Linked DNA regions of Homo sapiens: regions 1, 2, 3, 4, 6 and 7 are each linked to region 5. Evidence: promoter capture Hi-C in human tissues and cell types (Jung and others, 2019). All regions are on one chromosome and are shown on one strand. The core of a region is centred on a gene start or on the middle of the fragment in contact, and the rest is flanking DNA. Distances in the headings are between cores, read along the strand shown. Region 1 overlaps TANGO6 (transport and golgi organization 6 homolog). Region 2 overlaps CDH1 (cadherin 1). Region 3 overlaps TANGO6 (transport and golgi organization 6 homolog). Region 4 overlaps TANGO6 (transport and golgi organization 6 homolog). Region 5 holds the start of ZFP90 (ZFP90 zinc finger protein). Region 6 overlaps CDH1 (cadherin 1). Region 7 overlaps TANGO6 (transport and golgi organization 6 homolog).

Region 1 (3,574 bases), core at 1,046-3,545, 480 kb before region 5:
CGGCTGGGCATGGTGTGGCTCACCATGGTGAAACCTCGTCTCTACTAAAAATACAAAAATTAGCCAAGCATGGTGATGGGCTCCTGTAATCCCGCTACTTGGGAGGCTGAGGTAGGAGAATTGCTTGAACCTGGGATGATGAGGTTGCAGTGAGCTGAGATCACGCCATTGCACTCCAGCTTGGGCAACAAGGGTGAGACTCTGTCTCTCAAAAAAAAAAAAAAAAAGATTTCCAACTAAGACTAAAATATACTTTTCTACCTTTGTTGCAGTGCTTTCTCTTTCTGGAGTTAGGAAGGGGGCTTGCTCACTCTGCAGTGGGAGATGAGGATCCAGAGTTAGAGATCTGTGTTCTAGGGTTGGCCCTGCTGCCAACCAGCAGAGTGACCCCTGGGCAATTCACTTCGCTTCCCTGGAAGTGGAGATGAGCCAGTGAGACAAGATGACCTCTCAGGCCCCTTCCACTTCTAAGTGTGTGAGTTGGTGAGTCACTTTCAGTTTAGTCATTAGGAAAATGAGATTTAGGAGACTGGGGAAGGAAGAAAAGGCACACATTCATGAGCCCTGGAGTGGGAGGCTGTTGTGGTTAAAGGAAGAAGGTTCCTTGTCAGGAAGGAAGGCACATAAAAAATGAAGGAAGTTTGGAATCTACAAGCAGGGGAAATTGCAGGTTGAAAAGGGTAAGAACACAGGAGAAACATTTTAATGTTTACTAATATAGTGGCTTATAGTTAAAAATAAATGATAAAGAAAAGGCATATTAACTTATCAAATAATGATTAAGTGTGTACTATGTGTCTGCCACTGTGCTGGGCCCTGGGGGACTAATCATAAGCAAGAAAGATACAGTCCTTACCCTCATGGCAAAACCTAATGGGGAAGAGGAAAAATACTGACCAAGCAATAACAATGGAGTGAGATGTGCCAAAATGGTGACAGAGAGGGACTTTTATGAGTAATGTTTGATCTGGTTTCTATTCTATTAACAACAGCTCCAGTATTATCTTATTTGCTCAGACTCTAAAGTGTGTTCATTTTTTTTTCACTACTCCCTGTTACCCTTCAATTAGTTCACTTATTATTCAGTCTTCGTTTACTTCCACACAGGATCTGAAGCAACTTACAATAAATAACGTTGAAACCATGTGTCATTAAAATAAACATTTTAGGCTGGGTATGGTGGCTTACACCTGTAATCCCAGCACTTTGGGAGGCTGAGGTGGGCGAATCACCTGAGGTCAGGAGTTTGAGACCATCCTGGCCAACATGGTGAAACCCATCTCTACTAAAAATACAAAAAATTTAGCCAGGTGTGGTGGTGCCTGCCTGTGGTCCCAGCTACTCAGGAGGCTGAGGCAGAAGAATAGCTTTAACCCAGGAGGCGGAGGTTGCAGTGAGCTGAGATCGCACCATTGCACTCCAGCCTGGGTAGAGACTCCATCTCAAAATAATAATAATAAATAAAATAAAATACATAAAATAAATATTTTAAAACCTCTACAGTAAGTGAGAGAAGTGCAGACATCCCAAGCTAAGAATGGCTACTGCAAATAAACCAAGAGTTTAGTAGTTTAATTTTACAATTCTTGGTAGCTAAGGCAAAAAAGGAATTAGAAAACACAGCTCTCATTATCCAATAAAAGAAGGAACATCATGAAGAGAGAGAAACTTCAGGAAGGACACTAAGAGGTATCTCATTCATTCATCCGGCAAATCTTTTTTTTTTTTTTGAGATGGAGTTTCGCTCTTGTTGCCCAGGCTGGAATGCAACAGCGCAATCTCGGCTCACCGCAACCTCCCTCTCCCAGGTTCAAGTAATTCTCCTGCCTCAGCCTCCCAAGTAGCTGGGATTACAGGCATGTGCCACCACGCCTGGCTAATTGATCCAGCAAATCTTAATTGAGTGCCCACAGTACTCCAATGTGCCAATGTTCTCAGTACTGAGGACAATATGGCATGAACAAGAAATCAAAGCTCCCATCTTCATGAAGCCTACTTCTAGCGGGGAAGAAAGACAATAAATAATAAAATTTCCAGCAGCAATGAAGGCTATGAAAAAAAATAAGGAGCGGGGGAGTTGACAATGTGGGTGAGGGCTCAGGGAAGAGCTCTCAGAGGAGAAGACCTCAAGGAACAAGGCATGTGAGGGCCTGGTGGAAAAGTGAAGAAGAGAGTGGGCAATAGAAGCTTTATATTCAATGCAGGAATCATACGGCTGTTTCTTATACTGACTGGCCATATAAGTCAAGAGCATATCACTATATTAACAAAACTGCAACTTAACGTTCCATTTATGTAAATTCCTGCCCTAACTGAGCTCCAGCACTCCTTTGAAAATGAGCATCCATTGGCCAGGTGCGGTGGCTCATGCCTGTAATCCCAGCACTTTGGGAAGCAGAGGGGGCGGATCATGAGGTCAGGAGATCGAGACCATCCTGGCTAACATGGCGAAACCCGGTCTCTATTAAAAATACAAAAAATTATCTGGGCGTGGTGGCGGGCGCCTGTAGTCCCAGCTACTCGGGAAGCTGAGGCAGGAGAATGGCGTGAACCCAGGAGGTGGAGCTTACAGTTAGCCGAGATCATGCCACAGCACTCCAGCCTGGGCGACAGAGCAAGACTCTGTTTAAAATAAATAAATAAATAAATAAATAAATAAATAAAATAAAATGAGCATCTGTTAAACTACATGCTCCATCAACCCATCCCAGCTACATCTGAGAACCCAAGAAGCCAGTGGGAGTGTCAGCATCTCAGACCCTGCATTGTACCTGGTCAGCTGGCTCTGGGCTCACTTGCTACCTTGTTTTCCAAGTGTTGGACTGGAAGAACTGGAACACTCACTGCATCCACTCTGCATTTCTCAAAGGGCCCCTGCCTCCACGTTCTCCGAGACTGGACCTCTCTTAGGCCTCACATACATAGCCTAGATCTGTCACATACTTGGCTCAAACCTGGTCTTCTTTGGGGATTTATGACCTTGCCTTCATTTCTTGGGGCTCTGCTACCCTCTGACTAATCTTCCCTCCCTTCTGATCTTGTGATAGAGGTCTCAGGACTGTATTGTACCCTAGTCTCCAGGTGGGAGTTGGCTTGAACTGGTTTCTATGGAGAACAAAATGAATGCACATAGTCAAAGAATCTTCCAGGGCTGCAATTTGGCATAGGCATTGAATTTTAAGATCCTACATAAGAGGTTCTTTGTCTTTTCTTTTTCTTTTTTTTTTTTTTTTGAGACAAGGTCTTGTTCTGTCACCCAGGCTAGAGTGCAGTGGTGCAATCATAACTCACTGCAGAATCAAACTCCTGGGCTCAAGAGATCCTCTTGCTTTAGCCTCCTGAGTAGGGTGGGACTATAGATGCACACCACCATGCCCAGCTGGTTACAATTTTTTTTACAGAGATTGGGCCTTGCTATGTTGCCCAGGCTGGTCTCGAACTCCTGGGCTCAAGTGATCCTCCTGCCTTAGACTCCCAAAGTGCTGAGATTATAAGTGTGAGCCACTGTGCCCAGCCCAGGGGTTAATTTGAGCTTTAGGGATTCCTCTATGTCAAATTTTGTATACATCTCACT
Region 2 (2,551 bases), core at 52-2,551, 270 kb before region 5:
TGGTAATAAAGAAAAGAAAGGGAATGATTACCACAAAAGTCAGGGTGTGGTTATCTTTTTTTTTTTTTTTTTTTTTGAGACGGAGTTTTGCTCCTGTTGCCCAGGCTGGAATGCAATGGCGTGATTCGGCTCACCACAATCTCTGTCTCCCGGGTTCAAGCAATTCTCCTGCTTCAGCCTCCCAAGTATCTGGAATTATAGGCATGCGTCGCCACGCCCAGCTAATTTTCTATTTTTAGTAGAGACAGGGTTTCTCCATGTTGGTCAGGCTGGTCTCAAACTCCTGACCTCAAGTGATTTGCCCACCTTGGCCTCCCAAAGTGCTGGGGTTACAGGTGTGAACCACCACACCCAGCCTAGGGTGTGGTTATCTTTATGGAGGAGAGAAAAGAATGTGACCAAGGGGGATTGTTTAGGGCTTTAAGGTACTGGTAAAGATCTGTTCCTTAATTAGGAAGGTTGTTCTTAGCCAGGTATAGTAGCTCATGCCTATAATCTTAGCAGCTTGTGGGGCTGAGGTGGGAGGATTGCTTGGGCCCGGGAGTTTGAAAGTAGCCTGGACAACAAAGCAAGACCCTGTCTCTGAAAAAAAAATTTTTTTTTTTTTGAGACGGAGTCTGGATCTGTCACCCAGGCTGGAGTGCAGTGGCGTGATCTCAGCTTACTGCAACCCCCGCCTCCCGGGTTCAAGCAATTCTCCTGCCTCAGCCTCCCAAGTAGCTGGGATTACAGGCCCCCGCCACCACGACCGGCTAATTTTTTTGTATTTTTAATAGAGACGAGGTTTCACCATGTTGGTCAGGCTGGTCTTGAACTCCTGAGCACAGGTGACCCATCCACCTTGGCCTCCCAAAGTGCTGGGATTACAGGCATGAGCCACCATGCCCAGCCTAAAAAAAAAAAAAATTAATAATAAAAAAGGGAAGATTGTTCTTAAACTCTCCCTATTTTATATGTTTCCACAGGTAGACTGTTACACACATGCATATAACACAACAATGGCTTGCCAAGAAGTTCTGTCCGTAGGAAGGATCAGCTTTAGTTACACAACCTTTGGGCTTGGACAACACTTTGGGGTCCAAAGAACCTAAGAGTCTTTCTGAGTATTCAGATTCTCATTAGTGGATATACCTGGAAGAGCACCTTCCATGACAGACCCCTTAAAGACCTCCTGGGTGAATTCGGGCTTGTTGTCATTCTGATCGGTTACCGTGATCAAAATCTCCATTGGATCCTCAACTGCATTCCCGTTGGATGACACAGCGTGAGAGAAGAGCTGAAAGAACCAAGTGAGGGTGACTTGAGCTCTGATGAGGAAGAAAACATGGGAGAAGGGGCCCAGCCAGAGCAGAGTGCGCCCCCCTGGCTGCCACACCTTCCTAGGCTCTGAGACCCCCAGTGGGTGACTTTTCTCACACATGTGCTGCTGCTGCTTCAGTGAGATTATAACAAGGTAAGAGCCATGGGCTGGAGAACACCCCCCACGGCTCAGACCTCCCATTTCCCACACGAGGACCAGGGCATCAGGCCTAGAGATGAAGATGCGGGCCTGAAAAACTCTTATTCCATGCCGGGTGAAACTTGCTCTGGTCCTTTTAGTCTAGCATTTCCCCCAGATATTTCTGAATTTGGCATCAATATATGACTTCCTGGCCAGGCATAGTGGTTCATGTAATCTCAGCACTTTGGGAGGCCGAGGTGGGCAGATTGCTTGAGCTCAAGATTTCAAGACCAGCCTGGGCAACATAGCAAGATCTTGTTTCTACAAAAAATACAAAAATTAACTGGGTGTGGTGGCCTGCGCCTTTAGTCTCAGCTACTCAGGAAGATGGGGTGGGAGTGTCGCTTGGGCCCAGAAGGTCCAGGCTGCAGTGAGCTAAGATTGTACCACTGCATTCCAGCTTGAGTGACACAGGTAGACTCGGTCTCAAAAAAACAAAAATCCAAAACAAAAACAAATGACCTCTTGTAGGCCGGGTGCAGTGGCTCCCTCCTGTAATCCCAGCACTTTGGGAGGCCAAGTAGGGTGAATCGCCTGAGGTCAGGAGTTTGAGACCACTCTGGCCAACATGGTAAAACCTCATCTCTAATAAAAACGCAAAAAATTAGCTGGGCATGATGGCAGCTGCCTATAATCCAGCTACTCGGGAGGTTGAAGCAGGAGAATCACTTGAACCCGGGAAGTGGAGGTTGTGGTTCCAGCCTGGGTGACAGAGTGAAACCCTATCTCAAAAAAAAAAAAAAAAGACCTCTTGGTTTTCCTAAGCTCTTGCTGCTGCCAAGCCCAAGAAATGGGTTTTGCTCCCTTATATCATCACTGTCCTGTTCCTTTAGGTCAGGGACTTCCAGCCCCAAGAACAGGTTGACATCTTGGGTCTAAATTTGTCCTGGTTGTATGAGGATGCATGCGGATTCTCCTTCCTTTCTTCCTGACAAGGAGAAAAATTAACAACCCCAAACTGTCCCACGTTCTCCCATCACTTCTCCTTAGCAACAGGTCAAGAGGTGTCAAGTTAAGCTCCTCATGTGTTCAGAGCCTCTGATCTGCGGA
Region 3 (3,499 bases), core at 601-3,100, 500 kb before region 5:
GGAGTAGCTGGGACTACAGGCGTGTACCACTACGCATAGCTAATTTGTGTAGTTTTTGTAGAGATGGAGTTTTGCCATGTTGCCCAGGCTGGTCTCAAACTCCTGGACTCAAGTGATTCGCCTGCCTCGGCTTCCCAAAGTGCTGGGATTCCAGGCATGAACTACTGCACCCCGGTCAAGGCCAATTCTTGAATCCCTGTGCCACCTTGAAGGTATGACTGAGAGAGGAGCTAGTTATGACAAGCCTTGCTGAGATCAGCTGAAATAGCCTCCTGCTTGCTACGGGCTGTTAGTGACTTATGCGCCAGACTCCACCAAACCCATCTGCAGTCAGCCATCCAGGACAATCAGGAAGAGGCCCGAGAACAGAAGAGCATTTGGGAAACTTCCTCAACCCCTCTGTCACCAGGACCAAATCATGTGAAATGTATAATGGTCTGTCACGCAAAATGCTTTCTGAGCATCGGAATTTTAATATGGTCTTACGGATATCATCTAAATATAAGAACAGTCTTCAGTTCAGGTCAAGCACCCATAACCAGCTTGTAATGCTGCTCTCCAGCAGACCAATGGGACAGACCCCTTGTCCAACACTAGAAGTGGGGAGGATGTAGGCCACTCTCTTCTATGTATCCAGGCTGGAAAAGTCACTTCACGGCTAGTCTCTCACCTCCAACCCCAACGACATAATGAACACTGAGTTCTACCTCTAAAAGCCTTGGTGAGATAGATAGATGATGAACTGGTGTATTATTTCTATACTCTAAGTCCTCTCAGAGGGCAGAAATCCATTCTTTTTTTTTTTTTTTTTTTTGAGGCAGAGTCTTGCTCTGTAGCTCAGGCTGGAGTACAGTGGCATGCTCGCAGCTTACCGCAACCTTTGCCTCCCGGGTTCAAGTGATTCTTGTCTCAGCCTCCTGAGTAGCTACATGTGCCTGTCACCACACCTGGTTAATTTTTGTATTTTTAGTAGAGATAGGGTTTTGCCATGTTGGCCAGGCTGGTCTCAAACTCCTGACCTCAAATGATTGCCCACCTTGGCCTCCTAAAGTGCTGGGATTATAGGCGTGAGCCACTGGGCCCAGCCAGAAATTCATCCTTTTGTCACCTGCTCTGAGTAAACCACACTATGGAAAGCTTTCTCTTCACTGGCTAAATCAGTAAACTGTGTCCACTTCTAAAAGCCATCCAGAGAGAAAGATGCTGATTGCTTTGGAAGCATTAAAGGTCAGTTTCAGCAATTTAACACTTAACAGGAGCCAAGAGAAATAAGGAAAAACATCACTCCCAAAACAGCTGGCACACACCAAGCATAACCAGAACTATATAAATAAAGATAATACAAATGGCAAGATTACCAAAAACTGACTTTGGAAAATTCCAAGTGAGAAGTTGCCAGAATTGAGGTATGTATCAAGGAAGCATGACTTTAATTTTCCAACTGCATCTTCATCCATTTTCCTAAAGCTTCCTTTATTAAAATTCAGTTGGTTTGCTAACTTGTCTGCAACTTCACCATCTGTAAACCAAGAAACCTTAACAGCAAAGACAATGTGACCAATCATTCTCAGGAGCTTGGCTTACTCAACCTGCCATGAAAGAAACCATGGCAGGTACTTTAGCTTCCTTGGGGTTTCCCAGAACATCTATCTCAGGCCTCATCTCAGGGGTCTACGTATCCTCAAACTGCACTGATTGTGGCAAAACTGATAGTAAATTCAGGTCATTCCGTGGGATCAGAGGCAGTGGCTTTGTATCAGCCCCCAAAGCTCAGGTATGTGGAATTCTGGGCACCATGTTAAAAGGAGACTGGACTTGTCACCTGGGACACATCTTATTTGCTGTAGTGAGGACAGGCCTCTCACTGTGGTTCACTTAAATCATATTTACTTCTCATAGAGAGTGATAAAGATGAAGAATCTATCAAGATTTGGTTTTAAGCGACACAGCCTTTGACAAGAACAAGGAAAAATTGAAAAAAAAAAAAAAGAAAAAAAAAAGAATGTTATCTACAGGTTAATTCTTGACATCAACAGAGAGGAAAAGCCTGAATTCCCAGTACAGTGACTGTGGAAGGGTTGAGCCTATACTTTATATTCCTTCCCGACCAGCTGGCATCATCATAGCAGACAGTGCCCAAATCTGGATCACCCAATAGTTAGGATAACTTTCTTCAGATGCCGAAGAGCTATAGCCAGAGAGGAAGGGCACTGATGCCCGCAGACCACGTCGCTTTAGAAGGGACTACGGTGGCTGGTTTGTTCAATTTCATTTTCTTCTGCTTATTATTTTTAACAGGTGTAATTCACTATTATTCTTGTATGAAAGCTTATGCTGTAACCACAGCTGGAGCCTGGGTCCTCTGCATGGAGGCTCTGGTGTGGGTCTTGATGTGATGGTCAGTGCATTCCACAGGGAGGCTTGGTGAATAGTCTCTTTCCAGAGGCTGGGGGTCAGGCAGCTATAGGTCCTGGAGATGGCATTGAAGGTGGCCTTGGTGAAGTTGTCCAGGGTGGCAGTGCAGCCCCTGGCTGAGGTGTAGCAGTTGTCAATACCGGCCATCAGCAGCAGCATCTTGGGCACAGGAGTCGAGATGATGCCATTGTTCCTGGGGGCAGGGATAAGGTGTACTAGCCCAGAGCTACAGCAGCCTGTAACCATACAGGGGGTGGTGTAGGACTTGCCGATCTTGTTCCCCCAGTAACCTCTCCGCATAGGGACAATGGAAAGCTTGGCCAGGGTGATGGTCCCTTGGATGGCAGTAGTAACCTCCTTGGAGCACTTAACACTTAAACTGATGTGGCCATCATAGTCCCTAACAGTAACAAATGCCTTGAATCTGGTGCGGTGGCCAGTGTGGGTCTGTTTCTACACAAGCATAATCTTTAAAACCTCACCCATGAGAGATGCCCCTTGAAAAAAGCTAATGATATCACACTCCTCGATGGGCAGGGAGAAGAGATAGGTCTCCAGGGACTTGATCTTCATATCCTTGACCAGAGGGACCAGCTTGGTGATGGGTATCCACTCCTTGTCCTCAGTCATGTCTCTGTGAGTTCCACAGCCTCAGCTCTAGCCTTGACCATGGCTGCGAGCCCAGTCCTGCATGCTGCTACCAAAGCCTCTGAGGAAGCCATGGCAGTTTTCCATTTAGGGTCCCCAGGGCCTCCAGGACCTCCCGCCACATTGGCGTTATCCTCCAGTTTGGTGATTTCTCAGAAAGGAAGCTGTTCAATTTTATCTCAAAATAGATTATGCTTCTTCTCTTCCTCTGCCTGGCTAACACTTGATCAACATAACCTTCTTGATGCCCTGACAAGTTAACCCAGGGTCCCAGCTCTGGGTCCCCCAGAGCTTGGTGCTGGCTCTATCGTGTCACTCCTATCCACTGTTGATTTACTCCTCTGCGTTTCACACAAGTTACTGAGACTTCCTTAAGGGAAGAGATTGGGTCCTTTATTTGTGTCTTCTAGCATACTTGCCAGATAACAGATGCTCA
Region 4 (3,872 bases), core at 419-2,918, 410 kb before region 5:
GCCTGTAGTCCCAGCTACTCGGGAGGCTGAGGCAGGAGAATGGCGTGAACCCGGGAGGCGGAGCTTGCAGTGAGCCGAGATCGTGCCACTGCACTCCAGCCTGGGCGACAAAGCAAGACTCAGTGTCAAAAAAAAAAAAAGAAGAAGAAGAAGAAACAGAAATTAGACTTCATTGAAAGTAAAAACTTCTGTGTTTCAAATGACACCATTATGTAAGAGAAAAGACAATCCACAGGATGGCAGAAAATATCTGCAAATCATGCATCTGATAAAGGACTTTTCTCCAGAATGTATAAAGAACTGTTATAACTCAATGATAGGAAGGAAAAAAAAAATTAAAAATGGGCAAAGAGGCTGGGCGCAGTGGCTCACGCCTATAATCCTAGCATTTTGGGAGGCCAAGGCGGGGGATCATCTGAGGTCAGGAGTTCGAGACCAGCCTGGCCAACATGGCTAAACCCTGTCTCTACTAAAAATACAAAAATTAACTGGGTGTGGTGATAGGCATCTGTAATCGCAGCTACTCAGGAGGCTGGGGCAGGAGAATCACTTGAACCTGGGAGGTGGAGGTTGCAGTGAGCCAAGATCATGCCACTGCACTCCAGCCTGGGCAGCAGAGTGAGACTCCATCTCAAAAAAAAAAAAGGCAAAGAATCTGAATAGACACTTCTCTAATGAAGATTTACAAATGGGCAATGAACTCATAAAAAGATCTTCAACATCACTAGTCATGAGTGAAGTGCAAATCAAATCACAATGAGATACCCCTTCACACCCATTAGGGTGGCTATGTGAAAGCTGATCAAACAAATTTGGTCATTTTTGTCATACCCACCTAAGAGTTGAGAGGCCAGGGAAACAAAGCACGCAGTGCACATAATATTGCCCCAAAAGTATAATTCCCTACAAGCCCAGCTGCTGAAACTCCCTATTGTGACCTAAAACCAAGAAATTAAAAAAAAATAAAATAAAAAAGAAATTTAAAAAAGTAACCTAAAACCAGTTTTATCTTAGCTACTGAAACAAACTTGCTGCAACTCTAAGACTAGTTTTACCCACCACTGTCACTCCTCAGAGCTTGTCAGCTGCTCAGAACTTTACAGTGCCAATGAACTTTCTTTCTGGAACAGTATGTAACATTTCTCCTTTTTATAAAATCTCCAAACTTCTTCCTCTTCTTCTTCTTTTTTGTTTTTGAGACAGAGTCTCGCCCTGTCACCCAGGCTGGAGTGCAGTGGCCTGATCTCAGCTCACTGCAACCTCTACCTCCTGGGTTCAAGTGATTCTCCTGCCTCCAGAGTAGCTGGGATTACAGGTGTGCACAACCACACCTGGCTAATTTTTGTATTTTTAGTAGACATGGGTTTTCACCATGTTGGCCAGGCTGGTCTCGAACTCCTGACCTCAAGTGATCTGCCTGCCTCAGGCGTGAGCCACCGTGCCCGGCCAAACCTCTAAACTTATCTTTGTTCTTCAGACATATGGAAGACCACCCTGTCTGTGTATGCCCTGAATTGCAATTCTTGCTTCTGCAAAATGTTTTAAATTTAGAGATTTGTCCTTATATTTTATTTGATTTTGACATATGTGGTGTCAGAAGTGGGATTCCAAACCTGACTCACCTTGGGAAAAATCATCGGCCCTTGGAACTATGACATAAGGTACTCACATTGAGGGCCTTTGAGCACCCTCTCTCCCACGAGTCAGCTAGGTGTTCCCTGGTGAGTCTCCTGGATGGCACTCCTGCTTTGGGTAAAGTTCTGTTTTGTTTGGGATTTGCTTAGAGAAGGGTCTTTCCTCCTCTTATTTGGAGGGGGGTCTCTCTCTGGTTGGGAGATCATCTGTTGGGGAGGACTCTTTTCCTCCTGGCAGACCTCAGCTGTGAGGTCTGAGTGAAGAGATATTTTTCCTCCAGGTTGAGGCCTGGGTGAAAGAATTTTTCCTTTTCCCTTCAGTTGGGAAAGGCAGCTGATCGTCCTCTTGGTAAGTACATACTTTATTTTCCATCAGCACTTGTGTTTATTTGGCTTTTGCATATTCAACACTTGCATTTAATTGGCTTTTGTATATTCAACATTAAACTGAGTCACCTAGATAAGTTTAATTACAAATGGGCTCTCAAAGTTCAAAGACATGCCAAGATATATTTTGAGATTCCAGCTGGTAACATGTTCAAACATTACAGGGATCATGCAGTCTGTTGTTCTTAAAACTAAACTAAAAGACCATGGCAATAAAATCATACATTCCAAATAAGACTCATATCTCAAGGGATATCTTTAGGCTAAAAAAACCAAACCCAACCCGGACTCAAAGACTGACTAGCTATAAAATACTATCTCAAAGTTGGTTGAGACTCTCCTCTTTGGAGCTTGCCCCTCCCCTTCTTAGAATTCCTTCTTACTCTCTTGCTCTAAGCTAACTCTCTTTTTCCAAAACTCCTCAGCTAGGCTGGCATGCTGACAATTTAAGTAAAAAACACGTAAAAACTAGCAGATATTTTAAAAAATATTATTTTGACCTTCGTGCTGTTTCTTAAAAGCAAAAAATAAAATTCTCATATAAAAGACCCCCTTTCCATACTAAAAGGAATGAGGAGATTCTTATCTTAAAGGGCAAAAAATTGAGACCAAGACAATACTTTACAGACACTGTTAAAAAAAAAATATCTTGGCCGGGTGCGGTGGCTCACGCCTGTAATCCCAGCACTTTGGGAGGCCAAGGAGGGCAGATCACGAGGTAAGGAGATTGAGACCATCCTGGCTGACATGGTGAAACCCCATCTCTACTAAAAAACACAAAAAATTAGCCAGTGCGTGGTGGCAGGCACCTGTAGTCCCAGCTACTCGGGAGGCTGAGGCAGGAGAATGGTGTGAACCCAGGAGGCGGAGCTTGCAGGGAGCCAAGACTGCGCCACTGCACTCCAGCCTGGGTGACAGAGCGAGACTCTGTCTCAAAAAAAAAAAAAAAAAATTCTCAGATTCAGGTTGCAGTGAGCTTTAATCATGCCACTGCATTCCAGCCTGGGTGACAAGGTAAGACCCTGTCTCAAAAAATAAAAATAATAAAATAAAATAAAGAAAAAAAAGAAAAAAAGAGAAATAAAAAATAAAAATAAGAATATAAATATAAATAAGGCCAGGCATAGTGGCTCACACCTGTAATCCCAGCCCTTTGGGAGACTGAGGCAGGCTGATTGCTTGAGCCCAGGAGTTTGAAACCAGTCTGGGCAACATGGCACAATCCTGTCTCTACAAAAAACACAAAAATTAGCTGGGTGTGGTGGCATATGCCCGTAGTCCCAGCTACTCGGGAGTCTAAGGTGGGAGGACTGCTTGAACTCCAGGAGGTGGAGGTTCCAGTGAGCTGACATTGTGCCACTGCACTTCAGCCTGGGTGACAGTCAGACCCTGTCTCAAAAAAAAAAAAAAAAATTAAAAATTAAATAAATGAAATAAAATTTCTCAGATTCATATTTCAGAGGCTTGACTTTTGCAGTATCTTGCTACTTGTGATTTATAGGTCATACATCACTGCATTTAGCATTTTCTCCCCTTAAAAAGGCCTGAGATGATAACTCTCTCCTTCAACTTTGTCATCAGCTCCTGAACTTTTTCTCCAGTTCTAACTCTGCCATTATGGCCTGACATGAAAGTGTTTATCTTAATGGCCTAAAAAAGCAATGTTTTCCTCCAATATAATTTGATTCTGTATTCCTCACTTTCCTTGATGTATCTAAATTGTTACTCTTATAACCTAGACCCATTCTTCCTATGTCAGATTAAATTCAAACAATCTTTTCATCAGGTTTGATTTCCATGTTATCTAAATGAGATTCCCTTTAGAAAAAACAATCACACTGTAAGAGGTTT
Region 5 (3,689 bases), core at 635-3,134:
AATCCCAGCTACTAGGGAGGTTGAGGCAGGAGAATCACTTGAACCCAGGAGGTGGAGGTTGCAGTGAGCCGAGATCATGCCACTACACTTCAGCCTGGGTGACAGAATGAGACTGTCTCAAAAAATAAAATAAACCAAAAAATACAAAAATTAGCCGGGCATGGTGGCGTGCACCATGGCAGAGGTTGCAGTGAGCCAAGATCATGTCACTGTACTCCAGACTGGGTGACAAGAGACCCTGTTTCAAAAAAAAAAAAAAAAAAGGCATGATGTATTGTATGCTTAATTCACTATAAACTGCTCTTTTAAAGGACATTACTAAGTTGGTGTTTTTATCTTTTAAATTTTTTTTTTTTTTTTTTTTTTGCAGAGACGGAGTCTCACTATGTTGCCCAGGCTGGTCTCAAATTCCTGGGCTTAAACGATCCTATTGCCTCAGCTTCCCAAAGTGCTGGACTTACAGGTGTGACCCACTGTACCTGGCAACTTGGTATTTTTATTTGAATTGATCTTGATGTCTCACACACCTAGCAACTACAATCTGTCATTTTCCCTTAATTCTAAAGAGAATGTAGATTCAAAGATACAGATACCATCTGGATCTTGATGTATTTTCACCAATATGTAAATCAATGGATAACCTTAGAGTTGTGACGCTTCTAGAAAATGCCCCCTCTGCCACAAGAATAAATGGGTTCACGAATCAGCCTCACATTAAGGTGAAGGCTGGACTTCTGGCGGTGGGGAGTGAGTTGCTCTATTACATTTTTGTTAAAGCAGAAAAGGACAGACACAAAAAGCTCTGGGAGAATCAGCCCTGGTTTTATTTTTGGTTGTTTTTTATTTTGTTTTGTTTTTGCCTCCTTGCCCAAGAAAGCCCATCTCCAGCCTCTTCCTAGACATGTTCTAACCAGGCTTCTACGGCCCCTTACGGACTCTCTATGGGCCCTGGGTCAGAAGCTGGGGCTCCTCTCTCCACACTTGCCGACAGTCACTTCCTCCTCTACAGTGTTCCATCCTGTGACCCCACTCTCTCCATTTCTTATTGACAAGAGTTCAAAAAACTGGCGTGGCATTCAGGACTCTCAAAACTGACACTTCCCAACGCATCCAATCTCAACTCCTCCCACAAGATCGCACCACACTGGCCCTCTCTACCCCACAGAGCAGCCTCCCCTTTGGGAATCCAGCTCCCCAAAGCCTGGGGTTTTCCATGGCCAGGAGGCTCCGATCGAGCCAAGCAAGTAAGGGAGTCGCCAGGCAGAGAACAATGACTGCTCCAAACACCCTTGGGAGATGGGATGGATAGATGGATGGGATGCCCAGGAGGTTAGGAACGCGTTGCTCACCTGGGGCGCGGCGGTCGGAGGCCTCGGGGCCATTCCTGCCTCGCCAGGGCCCGGCTCCGGGGCAGGAGCTGGGGAGAAAGGACAGGGCCCACTCACCCCGCTGCAACACCGACCCCACCCCGCCCCGCCCCGCCCCACCTCCGCCCCTAAACCACATCTCCAGGGGAGATGGTGGCGAGGACCGTGGAACCAGCCCGGGCCTGCCGCTCCCCATCCCCGAAATGAAAGGCTCAGCGGCCTCCCGGACACCCCCCTCCGGCCACGCCCAGTCCCCTTCGCAGGGTGGTGGGCGAGGCCCGGCTGACACCCGCCAAACCCAGGAGGGGTCCCGCCCAGACCCGCGCACTCAGAATCACCGCCTCTGGGGGGCTCCGGATTTCGCGACCTCCGGCCCACCCAGAGCCTCGGGCAGCTCCTCCCGCCCCCGCCGAAGCCTCGGTTATCTCCAATTCTGATCTGCGGAGGGGCTGCCCAAAGGGGCCTCAGCCGCACCGGGGTCGGACAATGGCCGCAGCGGTGGGGCAGAACTGGAAGTGCGCCTGCGCACTCGGAGCCTCGCTCCTGCAACCCCGGGTCCACGCCGGGCGCGCGAACTACACTTCCCAGAGGCCCGCGCGCGCAGGCCCCGCCTAGGCGGCTTCCGAAGGCGCGTTAGGGACCCTTGCGAGGGCCGAGGGAGGCGGCCAGTGTGGCTCGAGTGTGCGTGTCCCTGTATTCCAGTCACTGTCCGCCTCCTCTTTGCAAGGGGCTTGTTGCTAGCTGGGGAATCGGCCGGGAAAGACCCTGGTTTCGGGGAGCAATCGTACGCCCCTTTCGACGAGGCTGACGATAAAAACGCAAACATGTCAACAAGATAATGTCAGGTCCTGACTTCAGCGGTAAGAGTGACACAGGAAGGGAGTGAGACAGCGTCAGAGGGTGGGGCATTTACATCTTCTTCAAAAGGCAATTTTCCATTTCTCATTTTAGAGAAAAAAGAAACTTCGGACAAATCCGTGGCCTCCTGAGCAATGTGCAAAGGCAGATCTACTGCCGTGTTATTTCATTACTTCGTATCCCCTTACGCAGGATTTTGTTTGGGACAAGCAAACAATGATGGAAATTTTCTTTTTTTTTTTTGAGACACAGTTTCGCTCTTGTTGCCTAGGTTGGAGTGCAATGGCGCGATTTTGGCTCACCGCAGCCTCCGCCTCCTGGGTTCAAGCGATTCTCCCGCCTCAGCCTCCCGAGTAGCTGGGATTACAGGCATGCGATGCGTCACCAGGCCCGTCTAATTTTGTATATTTAGTAGAGACAGGTTTTCTCCATGTTGGTCATGCTGGTCTCGAACTCGCCTCGGCCTCCCAAAGTGCTGGGATTACAGGCATGGGCAACCGCGCCCGGCCCGATGGAAATTTTCAACACAAAGATAGGTCAACTTTTAGATACAGCTATTACGTTTATGTAATTATGTCTTATATATCACAGACATTCAGGCTACATTTCCTAGATTTCAGCTTGATTTCTTAACATTAGAGCATTGCATACCAACATGGTAGAAAATGACTGCAACGAAATGTTCCTGATGTCACACTGCTTTATCAAAAATATGAACATTCAAAAATAAATGCTTTATGCCGGGTGCGGTGGCTCAAGCCTGTGATCCCAGCACTTTGGGAGGCTGAGGCTGGCGGATCACCTGAGGTCAGGAGTTCGAGACCAGCCTGACCAACATGGAGATAGCTCGTCTCTACTAAAAATACAAAATTAGCCAGGCTTGGTGGCGCATGCCTGTAATCCCAGCTACTCAGAAAGCTGAGGCAGGAGAATCGCTTGAATCTGGGAGGCAGAGGTTGTGGTGAGCCGAGATTGCACCATTGCACTCCAACCTGGGCAACAACAGCAAAACTCCATCTCAAAAAAAACAAAACAAAAAAGGGAGAAAATTTCCATCACTGTTGGCTTGTCCCAAACACAAAATCCTGCGCAAGGGGCTAACAAGTAATGAAATAACACGTCAATAGCACAGGGAGGCTGAGGAGGGAGGAGCCCAGGAATTAAAAGACCAGCTTGGGCAACATGGCAAAACCCTGTCTCTACAAAAAATACAAACATTAACTGGTTGCAATAGTGTGCGCCTGTGGTCCCAGCTACTTGGGAGGCTGAGGTGGGAAGATCGTTTGAACCCGGGAAGCAGAGGTTGTGGTGGGCTGTGATTTCACCACAGCACTCCGACCTGGGCGACAAAGCGAGACTGTCTCAAAAAATATATATAAAAATTAATGAATGCTTTCTATCACTGCTTTGTGAATATAGTGGTCTGGAATTAGCAGAATGCATAATTCACAAGTATGAATTAGA
Region 6 (3,368 bases), core at 180-2,679, 290 kb before region 5:
TCCCAACCCCAGCTTGTGAGAAAAGTATACATCCATCGATCTGGGGCTTTGTTGTGTGACTTGCTTAGCCAATGGGACAGTAACATATGACACAGGCAAAGGTCTGAAAGGCACCAGCTTCTGGTACAAAGATGAGACTTGCATGGAACAGACCTGGACACAATTCACAGGTTAGAGCCATTCAGCTAAACTCTGCCTAAATCTGCTGAGCCCCAGCCATCCTACAGATTCTCATGAGCTTAGATGAGACCAGCAGTTGCTCCAGCTACCCCACGGTACATGAGAAAGATACGCATGTTGTGTGCCGCTGAGATTCCACGATTGGTTGCTCTATTGCTCACTGATACAATATACGTGGTATCCCCAAACTAGACTTACAAGTCCCTGAAATCTAGAACAATATTTTTCTCTGTACACCCACCTCCCTATGTTGTATGGAGCTCAGTAAATTGTGCCTCACTCTGTGGCCTCAGTCAAAAACAGGACTCTGTAATAGACCCCCATGGATCCCTTTCTATAATAAGTAGGCTCTCCAAGACACTGAACAGTTCCCTGGACAACTCCAGGGTAAGATGTTAAGATCATCTCCAAAATCAGGAAATACAGAGGGACTGAAGGTATAACCATGACAGAAAAGGAGTTTGGTCTAGCTAAAAACTCAAAAGAAACAAAGCAGACCAGTTGTTCTATGTCAAAGAGAATCTGGCTGAAGTTCACGTCCAGAGAATGGCAATGAGGAAGGCAGGCTCTGAGACAGACCATTTAGCCCTGTCGCTTCCTAGCTGTGTGACCTTAGCCAAGTTACTGAGCTTCTCTGTGCCTCAGCTCGCTCACTGAGGTGCAGAACAGTATGCGATCAATAAATGTTAGCTGTGTTGGTGATGATGTGATGATGATGATGGTCAATGACAATGTCTACTTTCTTGGGTAAGGCCTTAAAAAGATAATATCCAAAGTGATTCAGAGCTGTTTCAAATGCCTACCTCTTACTAATCATTGCTTCTTCCGAATAAAGAGATCACCACTGAGCTACCAAGGTTTTCAAAACCCACCTGGTCCTCTTCTCCGCCTCCTTCTTCATCATAGTAATAAACGTTGTCCCGGGTGTCATCCTCTGGGGGCAGTAAGGGCTCTTTGACCACCGCTCTCCTCCGAAGAAACAGCAAGAGCAGCAGAATCAGAACTGGGATGGTGGGGGAGACAGAGCAAGTGTTGAGAGCCAAAGATAAAGAAGGCCAGAAGCAGCAGCTATCACAGAGCACCCCTCATACCAGACAGGGGGCAGTTAGACAGCCACTAGCTGCCTTCAATACACTTGAAGATGTCAATCCACGTGACACTCACATCCCTGAAGTCGGTATGTACAGTACAACATAGTAGACAGTGATATGTGAACTCAAGCATGGTCCTTAACTTTCAGATGGGTTTTAAACTCAATCACTGTCATTTTCCCAAATCTGGGGGAAAGTGTTCCAGGCAGAGGAAACAGTAAGGACAGAGGTCCTGAGGCAGGAGGAGCATGTTTGGTGTGATGGAGGGAAGGTGAGGAGGCCAGCATGGCTGTAGCAGGGTGCATGAGGGGAAGAGACATGGAGAAGAGCTCAGAGGGGCAAGCAGGGCGGGAGGGACATATGGGCCACTGTGAGGACTTTGGCTTTGATTCTGAGTTGGAGCCATTGAAGGTTTGTGAGCAGGGCTCCTAGGTTAGCCCAAATGTGATTGATACATAACCAGCTATGGGGAGTGGGACAGAGACTATAAAATTGCCTGGTATGTTCTTATTTTCTCTTAAGATAGAATCATGTAAGCAAGCTTTAAAATCTATTTAACTTCCAAGGCTTAACACAAGGGTTACATTTGATCTTGGGATTATTTCTAGGATATACACAATTAACATTTAACTTTAAAAAAAAAATCTCTAAAGCAGCCAGAAAGAAACCACTTAACTTAGAAAATACATATATTATTCACTGTGAATGAAAAAAAAAAAGATTCCATGTGTTTTCTATCCATGGGTGCCCAAGTACCTATATACTGTACCCTATGAAGCATAATCTTTATTTATTTATTTATTTATTATTATTTTGAGACAGAGTCTCACTCTGTTGCCCAGGCTGGAGTGTAGTGGCGCAATCTCAGCTCACTGAAACCACCACATCCTGGGTTCAAGTGATTCTCCTGCCTCAGCCTCCCAAGTAGGTAGGACTACAAGCACCTGCCACCATGCCCAGCTAATTTTTGTATTTTTAGTAGAGACAGGGTTTCACTATGTTGCCCAGGCTGGTCTCAAACTCCTGACCTCAAGTGATCCACCCACCTGGGCCTCCCAAAGTGCTGAGATTACAGGCGTGAGCCACCACGCCCGGCCGAAGCATAATCTTTAAACAGGAGGTTGCATAAACTTGGGGAAAAGATTTCTCAGATGTACCTCAACTACCTATTTCTAAAACCAGAAAAATGCCAGAAACCTTATCCAGATAAACAGCATAACTCCCTTGTCCATGATTCATCAACAAGAACACTGAATTGGCTGCACAGGGAGACAGCACTGAACAAGACTATAGGAGCTACACAGTCCCCATCCATGCAAAGCAAGAGGCAGTTTACCGTTTCCAAAATGACCCCTCTTATCAGCTGTGCCAGAAGCCCAGTATCCGCAGGCTCTGAGAAAAAGCCTGGCACAGAGTAAGCAATCAAACATTGGCGGAAAACATGAAAAGCTTCAGATCTCCTGGTGTCTCTCTAGTAATTTTTTTTAATAGAGATGGGATCTTGCTATGTTGCCTAGGCTGATCTTGAAACCTAGGTTCAAGCAATCCTGCCACCTCAGCCTCCCAAAGTGTTGAGATTATAGATGTGAGCCACCGTGCCCAGCCTCTAGCACATTTGTGCCCTTAAGAAACAAGAAATTGGCCGGAGGAGTGGCTCACACCTGTAATCCCAGCACTTTGGGAGGCCAAGGTGGGAGGATCACTTGAGCTCAAGAGTTTGAGACCAATGTGAGTAACATAGTGAGAACCCATCTCTAATAAAGAAAGAAAAAATAATCATAGAAGTTAAAAATACAAGAAATTGAAATTGAACATCTGAACTCTGGCATTGCCTCTGTTTTAAATGTTGCTCTACATGGGAATCCCCACCCCCAGTGTCTAAAAAAATACATACCCATAGCAAATTTAGGTAATCCTATTTAAAAAAAAAATATTTCAAGTATAACTACAATCTTTAAGATTCCCTGGCTGGGCACAGTGGCTCATGCCTATAATCCCAACACTTTGGAAGGCCAAGGTGGGAGGACTGGTTGAGACCAGGAGTTTGAGACCAGCCTGGGCAACATAAGGAAACACTGTTTCTACAAAAAAATATTA
Region 7 (3,410 bases), core at 173-2,672, 450 kb before region 5:
TGAGGTATTCATTCAAAAATAACAACAAAAAAATAGCAACCAACATTTATTCACCCCTTACCATGAAAGACACTGGTTCTGAACACTTAACATAAATTATCTTATTTAATTTCATTACCATCCTATCAGATATTTAATAGAATTATCCCCACTTTACAGATAAGGAACAAAGAAGTTATATAACTTGTCCATGCTACTAAAGGTTAGAGTCGAGATCAAAACCCAGTTAGTTATGACTCCAGGGTCACAGATAGCACTTCTGTTAAAGAAAACTAAAATGCATTCAAAGTTAAGTCCATATGTCGAATTCTTATTTACCTGCCCAGTGGCTGCCACTGTAGATGGTCCCACCTCCCCACTTTGATATCTGGCAACCCTACTAGAAGACTAAATATAGTGATAAATAGATCTCTGTGATGATACTCATATATTTATAAGCGATTTCATATATATTACTTTATTTGAGCCTCTCAATAGTTCTGTGAGAATAGTTGCTGGGTGGATTATAACCCCGTTTTCACTAAATGTTTAAAAAAAAAAGGATGATGGTCTCTCATTTATTCCTCTGAATTGCCTATAGTATTCACATTTTCTCACCATTTTCACAGCCATTCCTCTAACCAAAATCCTCATCTCTTTGTGTCAAGGAATACCACAACCACCTCCCAGCTTTCTCTCCGGCTCCAGGCTCTCCTTTCTTTTGTATTTTTATTTTGCGAGACAGTCTTGCTCTGTCACCCGGGCTGGAGTGCAGTGGCACGATCTTGGCTCACTGCAACCTCTGCCTCCCTTTAATCGGGTTCAAGTGATTCTTCTGCCTCAGCCTCCCGAGTAGCTGGGATTACAGATGCATGCCACTATGCCCATCTAATTTTTGTATTTTTATTTATTTATTTATCGATGAAATCTCACTCTGTCGCCTAGGCTGGAGAGTACAGTGGTGCGATCTTGGCTCACTGCAACCTCTCCCTCCTAGGTTTAAGCAATCCTCCCACCTCAGCCTCCTGAGTAGTTAGGATTACAGGAGTGCACCACCACACCTGGCTAATTTTTCCTTTTCTATTTTTAGTAGCTTTTTCTATTTTTAGTAGAGGCAGGGTTTCACCATGTTGGCCAGGCTGGTCTTGAACTCCTGACCTCAAGTGATCCACCCACCTCAGCCTCCCTAAGTGCTGGTATTACAGGCATGAGCCATCATGCCCAGCCCAGGCTCTCCTTTCTTCAGCATCCTTCATGTCCCTGCCAACCACATACCTATACATTTATCATCATGCTGTTTCCTTTAAGAATCTACAGTGATTCCCAAATGGCCATCATGGCAAGTCTAGACTCCTCTGCTCAGCTCTCAGAGCTGTCTGTGGTATGGCTCTACCCTGTCTATCTAGCCTTTCTTCTCCAAGGTACCCAACACAGCCTCAACAGAGGGACAGGTTAAGTCTCAGTTCTTCATTCTCACCATATACATCCCACTTCTGTTTTGTTCTTATGCTTTCTTTCCTATCTGGGGACATCTTTTTTCTGTCTTTATCACGTGTAAGCCTTTGTTCGAGATCTACCATCATCTCTTGCCCCAACAACATCCTAATAGGTCTCTCTGCTTCAAGTCTTGTCCCATTCTAAGTCATCCTTCACAGAGTGACCGAAGTAATTTTGCCAGAATATAATTATTATTACTTCTTTCCTCCTTAAAGTCTTTCAATGGCTCCCATTTTATAAAATCAACATAAACTCCAAATCCATTAACACAGCATATGTATCCTTTCATGATCTTGACTCCCTGAGCTAAGCCAGGCCATGGAACCTAGTCTGAGTTCAATGATGAATGAGAATGGTAGCCAGGCATGGTGGCTCATGCCTATAATCTCAGCACTTTGGGAAGCTGAGGTGGGAGGATCACTTGAGTCCAGGGGTTTGAGATCAGCCTGGGCAACATAGTGAGACCCTGTCTCTACGAAATATACAAACAAATTAGCCAGGTAATATGGTTTGGCTGTGTCCCCAACCAAATCTCATCTTGAGTTGTAGCTCCCATAATTCCCAATTGTTGTGGGATGGAGCTGGTGGGAGATAACTGAATCATGGGGGCGGTTTCCCCCATACTGTTCTCGTGGTAATAAGTAAGTCTCATGAGATCTGATAAAGGGAAACCCCTGTCGCTTGGTTCTCATTCTCTCTTTACCTGCCACCATGTGGCAAGATGTGGCTTTGCTCCTCCTTGCCTTCTGCCATAATTGTGAGGCCTCCCCAGCAATGTGGAACTGTCAGTCCATTAAACCTCTTTTTCTTTATAAATTACCCAGTCTCGGGTATGTCTTTATTAGCAGCGGGAGAACAGACTAATACGCCAGGTGTAATGGTGCATGCCTGTGATCTCAGCTACTCAAGAGGCTGAGGTGGGAGGATCACTTGAGCCAGGAGTTTGAGGCTGCATTGAGCTGTGATCGCACCACTGCACTCCAGCCTGAGTGACAGAGCAAGAGTCACACACACACAGAGCGAGAAAGAGAGAAAAAGAGAGAGAATAAGATTTCATCTCTTTTAATTTTATGTACTCCAAAGCAGAAAACAAGCAGGACGAAGATCATGAATAAGATAAAGATTCAGGTGGGTGAATACAGTCCCCTATTTTATCTCTTGGATCTCAGAAAAATGTGCTAAAATTCACCATGCATAGAGTAGACTCAAAGCAGCAGCTAAGGCTAAAAGAACTGAACTGAGATTTGAGCTGCTGCCCACCACAGGCATGACAAAGTTTGCCATTTCAGCCTACGTTAATTGCCTGTTGAAACAAAAATTTAACACTGTTCAGGGTATTATATCAGAAACCACAGTTTCTGCAACATAATATTCATAATGTCTAGTACAGAATCCAAAACTTCTAATTATGTGAAAATATAAACCATTTTCAAGGAAAAAGACAATCAACAGTGGCCAACACTGAAATGACCCAGATATTTTAGTTATCAGATAAGGATTTTAAAGCAGCTATTATAACTATGCTTAATGAAATAAAGGAAAATACACTTCTAATGAACAAAAAGAGAGGAAATCTCAACAAAAAAAGAGAAAGGGACCAACTACAAATTCTAGAAATGCAAAATACAATATCGAAAATAAAATATTCACTGGATGAGTTAAACAGTGAAATGGCAATGACAGAGGAAAGAGTCCATGTACCTAAAGATAGATCAGTTGAAACTATTAAATCTGAAAAAGAGAGAGAAAAAGATTGAAAAAAAAAAATTGAACAGAGCCTGTTCTTGTAGAACAAGAACAAGAACAAAAAAATCTAATATATGTGTAAAGTCCTAGAATGAAAATTTAAAAATTAAACAGAAGTAGAGCTATTAAGCCAAAAATGGAGATTAAGAATCATGGGCTGGGCGTGGTAGCTCATGCCTGTAATCCTA

Evidence for each region. Contacts are between HindIII fragments. The study calls those that stand out against the background at their distance.
Region 1: a fragment that was not itself captured here is called in contact with the fragment with the promoter of ZFP90 in region 5 in 3 of the 25 tissues and cell types used here (liver, lymphoblastoid cells and spleen).
Region 2: a contact is called between a fragment that was not itself captured here and the fragment with the promoter of ZFP90 in region 5, in 4 of the 25 tissues and cell types used here (hippocampus, lymphoblastoid cells, mesendoderm cells and 1 more).
Region 3: a fragment that was not itself captured here is called in contact with the fragment with the promoter of ZFP90 in region 5 in 6 of the 25 tissues and cell types used here (IMR-90 fibroblasts, aorta, dorsolateral prefrontal cortex and 3 more).
Region 4: a contact is called between a fragment that was not itself captured here and the fragment with the promoter of ZFP90 in region 5, in 4 of the 25 tissues and cell types used here (IMR-90 fibroblasts, aorta, dorsolateral prefrontal cortex and 1 more).
Region 6: a fragment that was not itself captured here is called in contact with the fragment with the promoter of ZFP90 in region 5 in 7 of the 25 tissues and cell types used here (H1 embryonic stem cells, bladder, dorsolateral prefrontal cortex and 4 more).
Region 7: a contact is called between a fragment that was not itself captured here and the fragment with the promoter of ZFP90 in region 5, in 3 of the 25 tissues and cell types used here (lymphoblastoid cells, mesenchymal stem cells and small bowel).

Annotation. Positions count from the first base shown.
Region 1 is chr16:69,014,555-69,018,128 of GRCh38, reverse strand. The region is part of intron 15 of TANGO6 (transport and golgi organization 6 homolog); the gene reads right to left. Among named protein-coding and RNA genes, the nearest start is that of HAS3, 89 kb to the left of the region's middle. The HindIII fragment of the contact is 8,154 bases long and covers 1-3,574 here.
Region 2 is chr16:68,808,922-68,811,472 of GRCh38, reverse strand. It overlaps CDH1 (cadherin 1), which reads right to left. Exons shown (of 16, transcript NM_004360.5): 6 at 1,132-1,276. Among named protein-coding and RNA genes, the nearest start is that of TANGO6, 33 kb to the left of the region's middle. The HindIII fragment of the contact is 3,618 bases long and covers 1-2,551 here.
Region 3 is chr16:69,033,358-69,036,856 of GRCh38, reverse strand. The region is part of intron 16 of TANGO6 (transport and golgi organization 6 homolog); the gene reads right to left. It also overlaps the pseudogene RPS2P45. Among named protein-coding and RNA genes, the nearest start is that of HAS3, 71 kb to the left of the region's middle. The HindIII fragment of the contact is 4,241 bases long and covers 1-3,499 here.
Region 4 is chr16:68,942,465-68,946,336 of GRCh38, reverse strand. The region is part of intron 14 of TANGO6 (transport and golgi organization 6 homolog); the gene reads right to left. Among named protein-coding and RNA genes, the nearest start is that of TANGO6, 100 kb to the right of the region's middle. The HindIII fragment of the contact is 7,830 bases long and covers 1-3,872 here.
Region 5 is chr16:68,537,486-68,541,174 of GRCh38, reverse strand. ZFP90 (ZFP90 zinc finger protein) reads right to left here and starts at 1,884. Exons shown (of 5, transcript NM_001305203.2): 1 at 1,696-1,884; 2 at 1,350-1,417. The coding sequence starts at 1,382. The HindIII fragment of the contact is 20,432 bases long and covers 1-3,689 here.
Region 6 is chr16:68,825,989-68,829,356 of GRCh38, reverse strand. It overlaps CDH1 (cadherin 1), which reads right to left. Exons shown (of 16, transcript NM_004360.5): 14 at 1,053-1,183. Among named protein-coding and RNA genes, the nearest start is that of TANGO6, 16 kb to the left of the region's middle. The HindIII fragment of the contact is 4,654 bases long and covers 1-3,368 here.
Region 7 is chr16:68,989,130-68,992,539 of GRCh38, reverse strand. All of the region lies in intron 15 of TANGO6 (transport and golgi organization 6 homolog), which reads right to left. Among named protein-coding and RNA genes, the nearest start is that of HAS3, 110 kb to the left of the region's middle. RefSeq lists an enhancer at 3,097-3,410. The HindIII fragment of the contact is 4,563 bases long and covers 1-3,410 here.